3 separate regions of the Homo sapiens genome follow, and all the other regions are linked to region 1. The links are contacts of gene promoters, found by promoter capture Hi-C in blood cells and fetal thymus (Javierre and others, 2016). All regions are on one chromosome and are shown on one strand. The core of a region is centred on a gene start or on the middle of the fragment in contact, and the rest is flanking DNA. Distances in the headings are between cores, read along the strand shown. Region 1 holds the start of CARMIL2 (capping protein regulator and myosin 1 linker 2). Region 2 overlaps DUS2 (dihydrouridine synthase 2). Region 3 overlaps PSKH1 (protein serine kinase H1).

The links. Contacts are between HindIII fragments. The CHiCAGO score rates a contact against its expected background, and 5 or more counts as called.
Region 2: a fragment that was not itself captured here is called in contact with the fragment with the promoter of CARMIL2 in region 1 in 1 of 17 cell types (naive B cells); the score reaches 5.5 in naive B cells.
Region 3: a contact is called between a fragment that was not itself captured here and the fragment with the promoter of CARMIL2 in region 1, in 3 of 17 cell types (endothelial precursors, monocytes and fetal thymus). The highest score is 5.9, in endothelial precursors.

Annotation. Positions count from the first base shown.
Region 1 is chr16:67,643,170-67,646,681 of GRCh38, reverse strand. It overlaps CARMIL2 (capping protein regulator and myosin 1 linker 2), which reads right to left and starts at 1,538. Exons shown (of 38, transcript NM_001013838.3): 1 at 1,396-1,538; 2 at 1,051-1,142; 3 at 905-958; 4 at 602-664; 5 at 372-496; 6 at 165-256. The coding sequence starts at 1,435. RefSeq lists a silencer at 1,455-1,844. The HindIII fragment of the contact is 10,344 bases long and covers 1-3,512 here.
Region 2 is chr16:68,050,698-68,054,209 of GRCh38, reverse strand. It overlaps DUS2 (dihydrouridine synthase 2), which reads right to left. Exons shown (of 17, transcript NM_017803.5): 5 at 555-646. Among named protein-coding and RNA genes, the nearest start is that of DUS2, 29 kb to the right of the region's middle. The HindIII fragment of the contact is 1,675 bases long and covers 742-2,416 here.
Region 3 is chr16:67,925,245-67,928,756 of GRCh38, reverse strand. PSKH1 (protein serine kinase H1) reads right to left here. Exons shown (of 3, transcript NM_006742.3): 3 at 1-1,432. The coding sequence ends at 1,115. Among named protein-coding and RNA genes, the nearest start is that of CTRL, 4.9 kb to the left of the region's middle. RefSeq lists an enhancer at 1,284-1,785. The HindIII fragment of the contact is 3,315 bases long and covers 605-3,512 here.

The DNA.
Region 1 (3,512 bases), core at 289-2,788:
GGAGAGAGACAAAACATCAGCGATGGAGGAAGACCAGACCCACAGACTAGGTGGTGGCTGGGACCTGAATGGCTCTGTTCAGTTTGGGGCCCCCCCAGCTTGCGGGTCTGGGGAGGCAGAGGTGGGGCAGGCTGGAAGGCCTGTGGCTCTGCCTTCACCCTTACCACAGGGGCTGCAGGGGTCAGTGGACTCCGAGGGGCTGCTTCTCTCCAGCCGAGCCAGCATGGAGGCTGGTGTGGGCCTCCGGAATAGCTTCCTGGTAGGGGGTTAAGGAGAAGGGGGCAAAGGACTTCCAGCCTCTGGGATGGGAAGCAGCCCTTCTCATGCACTCCCTCCTCCCCTGCCAGCCCCTCGAATTTGCCAGGCCTCACCCAAGGGTCGAGCGAGGGAAGACCTTCTTGATGGCTGCAGCCACGTGCTGGGCCAGCTGTTCCAGGGCGGCCACACCAGGAAACTCCAGGACCAGCTCACGCAGGGACTCCAGCTCAAAGGTGACCTAGGGAAGGGGCACTACTAGGCCTCGGCTCCACACATGGGCGCAGGTGATGGTGGTAGCATGAAGACCAGGCTGCAGGCCCAGGTAGGGTACTAGGTGTCTCACCTGAGGGGGTGTCTCCTGCAGCGCCATGGCCTGGACCTCCAGGTAGCTGAACGTGCAGTCCACCTAGAAAGGGCCTAGATCAGCTGGGACCAAGCCCCCAGCCCCGCCCTCATGGAAGTCCAGTCCTTTGGGCAGCCTGGGGCAGAGCCAGATCTGCCTGGACTCCCCTCCTGTCGGCTGCCCAGAGCCCAGTGCTGGTGCAAAGTCAGGGCCCACAAGGCCAAGAAGGACCACTCTGCAGATGCAGCCCCCTGCCAAGGTAGCTGCTGGCGGGCGGGGGTGTGGCCAGGCCCTGGGACTCACCCTCAGCGGGAGGCAGGTGGTGTGCAGCAGGTAGGCTCTCCATCGTAGCAGTGCCTGGGGAAAGACAGTCTGATATCCTGGGCAGAGCAAGAGGCTCTTTCTGTGGGGCCACAGCCGCCTCCCCGGCTCTGTCCCCTGCCCCATACCAGGACATGGTTTTGCACAGCACCCTCCCCGGGTAGCCAGGTTTTCAGCAGCAGCTCCACCTCTTTGGGCCACAGGAACCTGGTGATCTCGCCTGTGGAAGGGCAGCCTGCTGGGTGACTTCAGTCCTTGCACAGAAGCCACTGGTGCCCACAGTCTGTGCCAGGCTGGGGCCCTGGGGCTTATCTGCGGCCAGCGAGGAAGGAGGGGAGAGGATCTGGGGCGCCTGCCCTCCTGGGGAGCAGGGAGGACCTCTGACCAGGCCCTCTGGGGCGCTGGGTGGGCCTCTGATTTTGGGGCTGCACTACTTCCTCCCGGCCAAGAAGGCAGGAAGGGCCAGCGCTTACCTCGGAGCTCACAGGAGATGCCGTCGGGGGTCTGGGCCATGGGCCGGGCGGGCCGGGGAGGCCCAACGAGCTCCGGCGGGAAACAGCAGAGGACGAGCGCGCACACAGGAAGCCTGGGGCCCAGACCCGCACGGCAGCCACCTGCTCCTCCGGCGGCGGAAGGTGCGCGCCGCTTCCTGCCAGGCCGCCCCCGGCCCGGCCCCTCCCCGCCCCGGCCTCGCGGCTCGAGAGCTTGCCCGGGAGCGGGGTTGTGGGAGGGGGGCCGAGTCCCACCTGCCCGCCCGCCCCGTCGCCCAGGAGCTTCTCCGCCAGGGTAGACGTCGGGGTGGGCAGTGGCGTGGCCGGGAGGGTCGCGGGTGTGGCGGGCCTCCAGCGGGTCCTTGCCCCCGGCTTCCACCCCGCCCCGCAGTCCCTGCCGCGAACACCAGGGGACGCTGCCTGCCTGGGGATCCCCGCGGCCCACCGGGGCTGGTCCCCTCCAAAGCCCAGGCTGCGGAGGTGGACGAGGCGCCTGGCAGAAGGGGGACTGTTCAGCAAGGAGCGCCCGAATTCTGCCAACACCGGAGGTCCTGCCCGTTGCTCCGAACCTGGAGTCCGTGACCCTGTTAGGGATCCAAGAGATTTTGAATGGGTGGGAAAAAATGTCAGATGGGGCCAGGCGCGGTGGCTCACGCCTGTAATCCCAGCACTTTGGAAGGCCGAGGAAGGAGGAACGCTTGAGCCAAAGAGTTCGAGACCAAGCTGGGCAACATAGGGAGACCCTGTCTCTGCAAAATAATTTACAAAATTAGACGGCGTGATGGCGTGTGTCTGTAATCCTAGCTACTTGGGAGGCTGAGGTGGGAGGATCACTTGAGCTTGGGAGGCAGAGTTTGCAGTGAGCGGAGATCGCACCACTGTACTCCAGCCTGGGTGACAAAGCCAGGTCCTGTCTAAAAAAAAAAAAAAAAAACAGCCTGATGGGTCCAGACGCCCTTCCTTGCCGCAGAGGTGGGGTCAGGGCCGAAGGTGAGGGTGTACCCGGAGCCTTCGGGGGGAAGCCTGGGGCTAAGGTGAGCCCTGAACCCCAAGCACTTCATAGAGGGCCGGAGTGAGTCGTCCAGGTACATGAGGGTCTTCTTGTGTCTGCCTTCTCCCCAGGCTGGAGAGAGTTTGGGAGGGGGCAGCCAGAGAGAGAGAAATAAGCCAGTGTCTCCAGGGCTGAGAGGGGTCAGACAGTCATAGGGTGGGGCCTGGTAGCCTGTTGCCCTCTCAAAGACCAGGACCTAGATTCTGGAAAGTTCACAGGAAGAGACTGCATTTTTTTTCTTCTATTACAATCTAAACTCCACTTAAGCGGTAAGGAACAGCAGTCTACCCTGCCCATAGCTCAGCAAGGTGGAGGTGAAATGACAGCTAAGGGTGACAAGGAGGAGTCAGCTGCAGAAGATGCAGCACAGAGAGTTCCTGCTGCCTCCCCGATTGAAGAGACATACTTGGTTTGTTTGTTGGTTTTGAGATAGAGTCTTGCTCTGTGGTCCAGGCTGGAGTGCAGTGGCACAATCTTGGCTCACTGCAGCCTCCGCCTCCCAGGTTCCAGCAATTCTCCTGCCTCAGTCTCCCGAGTAGCTGGGATTACAGGTGCCCACCACCATGCCTGGGCTAATTATTATTATTATTATTATCATTATTATTATTATTATTTTAGACAGAGCTTCGCTCTTGTTGCCCAGGCTGGAGTGCAGTAGGGCGATCTTGGTTCACTGCAGCCTCCGCCTCCCAGGTTCCAGCAATTCTCCTGCCTCAGTCTCCCGAGTAGCTGGGATTACAGGTGCCCACCACCATGCCTGGGCTAATTATTATTATTATTATTATCATTATTATTATTATTATTTTAGACAGAGCTTCGCTCTTGTTGCCCAGGCTGGAGTGCAGTAGGGCGATCTTGGTTCACTGCAACCTCTGCCTCCTGGGTTCAAGCAATTCTTCTGCCTCAGCCTCCCAAGTAGCTGGGATTACAGGCATGTGCCACCACACCCAGGGAATTTTTATGTTTTTAGTAGAGACGGGGTTTCACCATGTTTGTCAGGCTGGTCTCCAACTCCTGACCTCAGGTGATCTGCCCACCTCGGCCTCCC
Region 2 (3,512 bases), core at 330-2,829, 410 kb before region 1:
CATTTAGATTCTACAATTAACATTTTGCTAGATTTGCTTTATCACATGGTTACCCATTGTTAACAATTTTTTAGAAACCTAAACATCATTAAGGATGTTTCTGAAAAAGCACCAAGAAATGCCCAAAGCGAGAGAAGGGCACTATAGAGTCATCACAACTCAAATACAAATCTTAACTACTCTTGAAAAATCCTAATATTTTTCTATGAGAAATATATACACACTACATAAAAACAAAGACTATGATCTGAGTAATCAATGCTAGGGATAAAAAAATAGAGAAATCATGCCAAACAGACAATTCCTACAAGTAAGTAAATTAAATTTGAGACTAGAGACATATAAGACTGTGATAGCTTGATTTCCATAAACTGTCTCCAATAGTATAATTACTCATGACTGGCTCTTTGGAAAACATTAAAGCAGAATCTTCAGGAAGCCATCGTTGTACAATGTACCCCAGGTATTCAACACTGGCCTGGCACAGGGCATGAGTTGGGAAATCCCAGGGGATGGTGAGCCTCAGGAGGGCATGCAGCAATGGAGTCTCTCACCATCTGGAAGACCACCCTGTTCTGCTCTCTTTCACAGGTGCGGAAGACAACTCGATCATCAGGGGCGACAAAGTCCACTGTGCTGAGCACCTCTGCAAGAAAACCCAAACACATAGGGTCACTCAATGAAGATGCAAGTTCAACGCTAGCCTAAGCCCTGGAAGAAAACACAGCCAGAGTATAAGCTTCAAGGGGAAAGAGATCCTAAATGTATACCATTCTTACCAAAAATAACTATGCACATGGGAGGCTTCTGTGATGATGAGGATGGTCTATTTCCTGACCTGGGTGATGGTTGTTCATTTTGCAATTACTTGTGAAACTGCATGTTTGTGTTTAATGCACTTTTTCTGAATGGTGGTTAACATTTTGCAACGTTTAAAATGTTAAAACCGGGCCGGGTATGGTGGCTTACGCCTGTAATCCCAGCACCTTGGGAGGCCGAGGCGGGCGGATCATGAGGTCAAGAGTTCAAGACCAGCCTGGCCAACATGGTGAAACACCGTCTCTGATAAGAATACAAAAATTAGCCAGGCGTGGTGGGGTATGCCTGTAACCCTAGCTACTCGAGAGGCTGAGGCAGGAGAATCGCTTGAATCTGGGAGGCGGAGGTTGCAGCGAGCCGAGATCGCGCCATTGCACTCCAGCCTGGGCGACAGAGCAAGACTCCGTCTCGAAAAAAAAAAAAATGTTGAAACAAAATGTACATACATAGCCGGGCGCAGTGGCTCACGCTTGTAATCCTAGGACTTTGGAAGGCCAAGGCAGGTGGATCATGTGAGGTTAGGAGTTTGAAACCAGCCTACACAACATGGCAAAACCGCATCTCTACTAAAAATACAAAAATTAGCTGGGCGTGGTGGAGGGTGCCTGTAATACCAGCTACTCAAGAGGCTGAGGCAGCACAATCTCTTGAACCTGGGAGGCAGAGATTGCAGTGAGCTGAGATCGCGCCACTGCACTCCAGCCTGGGCAACAGAGGGAGGCTCTGTCTCAAAAAAAAAAAAAAAGTCCATACATGGAAGTTTGTCTATGTTTCAGATTTGGCCCAAATTTTCCCAGAAAACATCACTCTGAAGTTCAGCAAATTTACTATTTACTTACAGTGAGACAGGTGCTATGAGTGGAAGGTTACTATATAACAATCAATCTCCTATACTATTCATAGTTGCATATTTGCAAATGTGCCTATTTGCTAACATTTATTTGTGACCCCAAAATCAATACTTGTGATGTTTTCATGGTCATCCAAGGACAGGAACAGAGTGGTGAAAGTTTTGAGTTGCCTGATGTGCATGTTCCCAGCTGAGGTCAAACAAGGTGATGCTCTGTCTTCTCCCTTCAGCTCTCATACTGTCAACAAGTGTCCCTTTTGTGGTATATTTCATGCCACATTTCTGCATGTCTATGCTTTTTGTTGGTGATCTCACTGTTTAAAATGGTCCCAAGTGGCTGGGTGCGGTGGCTCACACCTGTAATCCCAGCACTTTGGGAGGCCGAGGCGGGTGGGTTACCTGAGGTTAGGGAGTTCGAGACCACCCTGGGCAACATGGTGAAACTCAAGTCTCTACTAAAATACAAAAAAAAAAATTAGCTGGGTGTGGTGGCACACACCTGTAGTCCCCACTACTTGGAAGGCTGAGGCACAAGAATCTCTTGAGCCGGGAAGGCGGAGGTTGCAGTGAGCCAAGATCACGCCACTGCACTCTAGCTTGGGCTACAGAGTAAGATTCCATCTCAAAAAATATAAAATAAATAAAATAAAATGGTCCCAACCATACTGCTGAAATGCTATCTAATGTTCCTAAGCACAAGAAAACGGTCATGGGACTTACAGAGAAAATACACATCTTGAATAAGCTTTGTTTCGGCATGAAATTATAGCACTATTACCCATGTTAGTGGGTTCAATGTTAAGTGAATCAATGGTATATATTAAATAATATGCCTTTAAACAGAAACACATGGCCAGTGTGATGGCTAAGTCCTGTAATCCCAGTATTTTGGGAGGCTGAGGCAGGGGGATCACTTGAGGCCAGGAGTTTGAGACCAGCTGGGGAACATAGCAAGACCCCCATCTCTACAAAAAATTTAAAAATTGGCTGGGCATGGAGGTGTGCACCTGAAATCCCAGCTACTTGGAAGGCTGAGGCAGGATGATCATTTGAGCCCAGGAGTTTGAGGCTGCAGCGAGCTATGGTCACACCAGTACACTCCAGCCTGAGCAACAGAGTGAGACCTGGTCACAAAAAAGAAACCAAACAAAAACAAAGAAACACACATAAAACAAAGTTATGGACTGACAAGTTGATGAAAATATGACCAGAGGCTTGCACAAACCTAACCCTTTGTTTACCCCAGGGTCAATGGTTCAGTATCCGCTCATTTGATGTTTAAAGCAACTTTATAGAAACAACAACGGTGCATAATGAGAAGCAACTGTATTTTATCTGTCAGCTTCCTAAAGAAGCTCCACAATAGGTGCTACCATTACTAGCTTTCAAAGATCACTATACATGAAAAAGACTGAACGTGGCAGATGGGAGAATATGCCTACCTCAAAGGCTGTCTTGAGAAATAAATGAGATCTTTGATGCACTTAAAGTATTTCCATACATGGATGGTTTTATTATCATCCAGCACTAAACAGATGAGAAGGTTTTTAGGGTGGGATAAAGGCAATGACATGTTGAGAGAGGTAATCAAAGTGATCACTGACAGAGACAGCTCATGACTGGCAGTAAGAAGTATGAGAGAAGAACCACAAAATATTTGTGTGTTTATAATGCAACTCTGTTTATAACAGCAAAATACTGGGAACCCCTGTTAAGGCTCTGGTAAAATCAATTCTGACATAGTTGCCCCTAGGTACTGACATGGGCAAATGACCTAGTAGATAAGTAAATGGCAAAACAACACGTGTTGTATGATCAAATGGGGTGGGGAGATAGATAAATA
Region 3 (3,512 bases), core at 1,013-3,512, 280 kb before region 1:
CAGGTGTGCACCATGGGTGGGTGTGCACGATGGGCAGGTGTGCACGATGGGCGTGCAGTGATCACTCCCAGGCTGCCAACACCCATGCAGACACCAGATGGCGCCTTCGTGCAGCTGCAGAGGAGGGAGCAACAGAGCCTGAAGGGAAAAGGCAATGGGGCTGCACCAAAGGATAGAACCCAGGCTGACACTCGACCCTAATCGGGAGGACCCCCTTCCCTCTGCCTTGGCCCCCAGGTGCCCCATTCCCCAGGTAGCAGCAGTGGGGCTCCCTTTAACCACCCCCAGTTGGGAAGGAGGCACCTGGGGAATGGAATGGACATCCAACGGGGAGAGGGAGGTAGCGGTGGGCTCTACAAAGAAGGCACCAAGGGCGGTGGGCTGAGACCCCTCAGAATCTGGAGAGGCTGGAGCCTGGGCAAGCCGATGACCAGCATGGCCACACAGTCCAGAAGGGTGAAGGTCCACGCCATGGCCCTCCACCAGAGGTCCTGGGACCAGGAAGGCTCCCTGGAGGCACCATGAAGGAAGACAGATCTTGGCTGGGAGGTGGAGGGCTGTTTCGACCTAGCCAGGGGCTACGGGTCCAGTCAAGGCACAAGCTTTGTGCCTACCAGGGTCTCCCACTGGAGCATAATCTTAAGGATCAGGATGCATGGGAATGTGTGAAACCAGGGAGAAGGGCTCTGTGGAGGAAAGGGGGTCCCAGAAGTAACTGTCCCAAAGGGTCCTGAGGCCACAGGACACTCCACCCAGCACTGCAGTTCCCTTTGATTGGGGAAAAGTCAAAGGGCAAGGGAGACAGTGAAGGCCAGGTCCTATCCCTTCCCAACTCCACCAGAGCAGCTGCCCACCAAGAGGGGTATCAGTGCCAGGCCAGGCTCCCAGTTCAGGGGGAGTCACAGCCCCCTGTGCTACCTCTACTCTGTCACACCTGGCCCAGGCCCATGGTGAGGACAGGGGCTGCTGAAGGCACAGAGAAAGGGCTGGAGCCAGACATTCTTCACCTACTGTGGGCCACATAGGCCTATCTCCAGAGAGGGCATCGGACCCAGATGGCACCACAGTGTGTGGCCAGGCTGGGTCGTGCTGCATGTGTGCACAGCCAGGCGGCTCAGCCATTGTATTGCTGCTGGTAGCGCAGGTTGAGCTCCCGCAGCTCCCGTTCCCGCACACGGCGTGACTTATTGGAGCGTGTGGAGCGGCTGGAACGCGTGGACTGGGCAGATTTGGTGCTCTGGCAGCGCGAGGAGGCACGTTTAAGGAGGTTCTGGGATATGGAGCGGTGCAGGTTCTTCATGGATGAAGAGGCAGCCATGCTCACCACCCACGGGTGCCTCAGGGCCTGCAGTGCAGTCATACGGGCTCCAGGGTCCACTGTCAGCAGGCGGTCAATGAAGTCCTTGGCCAGGTTGGACACACTAGGCCAGGGCTAGAGACCAAGGACAAGCATTAGAGTGAGAGCATCTGACACTGCCCACCCCATCTGGATGAGGCCACTACTCAGCAACCCTCCCCTTTCCAGAGAGAGGTGCTGCCCCTCCTCTCATGTAGCACTTGGGGCCTCCCCGCCCAACGCTGGCTCAGGCTGAACAAGGGCTGCTCTCCAGGTGATGGAGTCTGGCAAGGAAGGAAAGGACCTGTGCACTCTCCCAGGGAGCAAATTCTATGGTGCACTGGACCCAAAGCCTGGCTCAGGGAGATGGCCTCTGCCAAGACCCCCCCGAACTTGTCCCAGGAGTATCATAACTCAGGGGACTGTTAGAGAATGATTCAAACTTTCCCACCACATCCTAAGTCAGATTGAAGCTCCAATCTCTGGATGACCAGGATCAGGCTACTTAAAGGGGAACTTCCTAGTCCTTACAGAGAAGATCCAACCTCTCTCCAACTGCCGAAGCAGTGGCAGAAGACCACTGCTCCCTGCCTCTGCCTCCCGGCATGGGGAGGAAAGGAAACAATTCAAGGCAACTAGATTTCCCAGTCGGCTGAGGGCAGGCGATCCCGGGACCAGGAAGGAACCAGGACCCTTCTCAGTGGCACCCTCTGGCCCGCATTACTTCTCTAAGCCACAAAGGGCTCCTGGCAGTGCTGTGCGCCAGCCTCATTTTAGTACATTCTGTCCCCTGGGAGGAACTCCATAAAGCCCACTCTGCCACATGCACCCCGGGCTGCCTCATCTCAGCCCCGAACCCAGCAGCTGTCTGTCTCAGGGCCTCAGGTTGTACGGCTGTCTTCACCTGACTGGATCCTCAGGTTCTCAGGGTAAAGGACACTTGCTCAGACTCCCTCTTAGCCCCCAGTGCTTCCAGCAATTATTCCAGCTGTAACGTGAGACTGCAATTTCATGTTCGTTTAGTATTCCCATGAGATCATGCTGAGCTGGATGAGCCCGTGCCTGGTGCTGCGCATACAGGAAGCACTCAGTAGGCACAGGCTCAGACAGTAAACAACCCACGGTGCTGCCGGATGGGTGCCCTTTCCTGGAGCTGCTTCCAGGCCTTGGGGCTCAGCCAGGTGAGTCCTTGCGTCCCTGCATCTCCTAGGAACACTTCTGGCACGGGCTCTGAGGCTCCCCCAAGGATAGGCAGCTAGGACCTTTCCTGAGCCTGCTGCAGATGACTCAACAGGGATGCTAACGATCCCCTCACTTTCCTTCCTGCCAGGTGAGGTCTGCCTGTTCCACCCATGGTACCCTTCACCACCCATGGTACCCTTCACCTTGAGGAACCCCTGAACATGCCCTCCAGGGGGTTCAGGAGGATCTGAGAGACCACCTTCAGGGCAGGTGCACAGCCATCTAGCAGACACACACACTCACTGACTACTGCTACTCCCAGTCTGGCTCGCCTGACCTCCAACTCTTTCCCTACCCCCTTCCCCACTGCCACAGAGGGATGAGGCAGGGAGAACACGCTTCCACCGTCCTGAGGAAGGCCTGGGGCTACCTGCAGCTGCTGTCTTCACCCACTCTTTGGAAGGTTATTCCAAGTTTTACTGAGCTGAAGTGGGAGCAACAGGGGAACCATATTCCCAAACACACCTAACAGGGTCATCCTCATCAGTGGGCCAGCAGCACCCAGTGACTCCTGGGGAGATGCTGGCCCCCAGGAGGAGGAAAGTCAGGGTCCAGGAGCATGCAGCCAACGAAGGCCCATAGATGCCTTACTATCCAAGGGCTGTGGGTGGGCGCAGAGAGCAACAGCCCTCCCCGACAGGCAGGTAAGTCTCCTGGGGGCTTGTGTAGTTCAAGATTCATATTGAGGGCCAGGCGTGGTGGCTCATGCCTGTAATCCCAGCACTTTGGGAGGCTGAGGCAGGTGGATCACAAGGTCATGAGATCAAGACCATCCTGGCCAACATGGTGAAACCCCGTCTCTACTAAAAATACAAAAATTAGTCGGGCGTGGTGGCGTGCCTGTAGTCCCAGCTACTCAGGAAGCTGAGGCAGGAGAATTGCTTGAACCTGAGAGGCGGAGGTTGCAGTGAGCCAAGATCGCACCACTGCACTC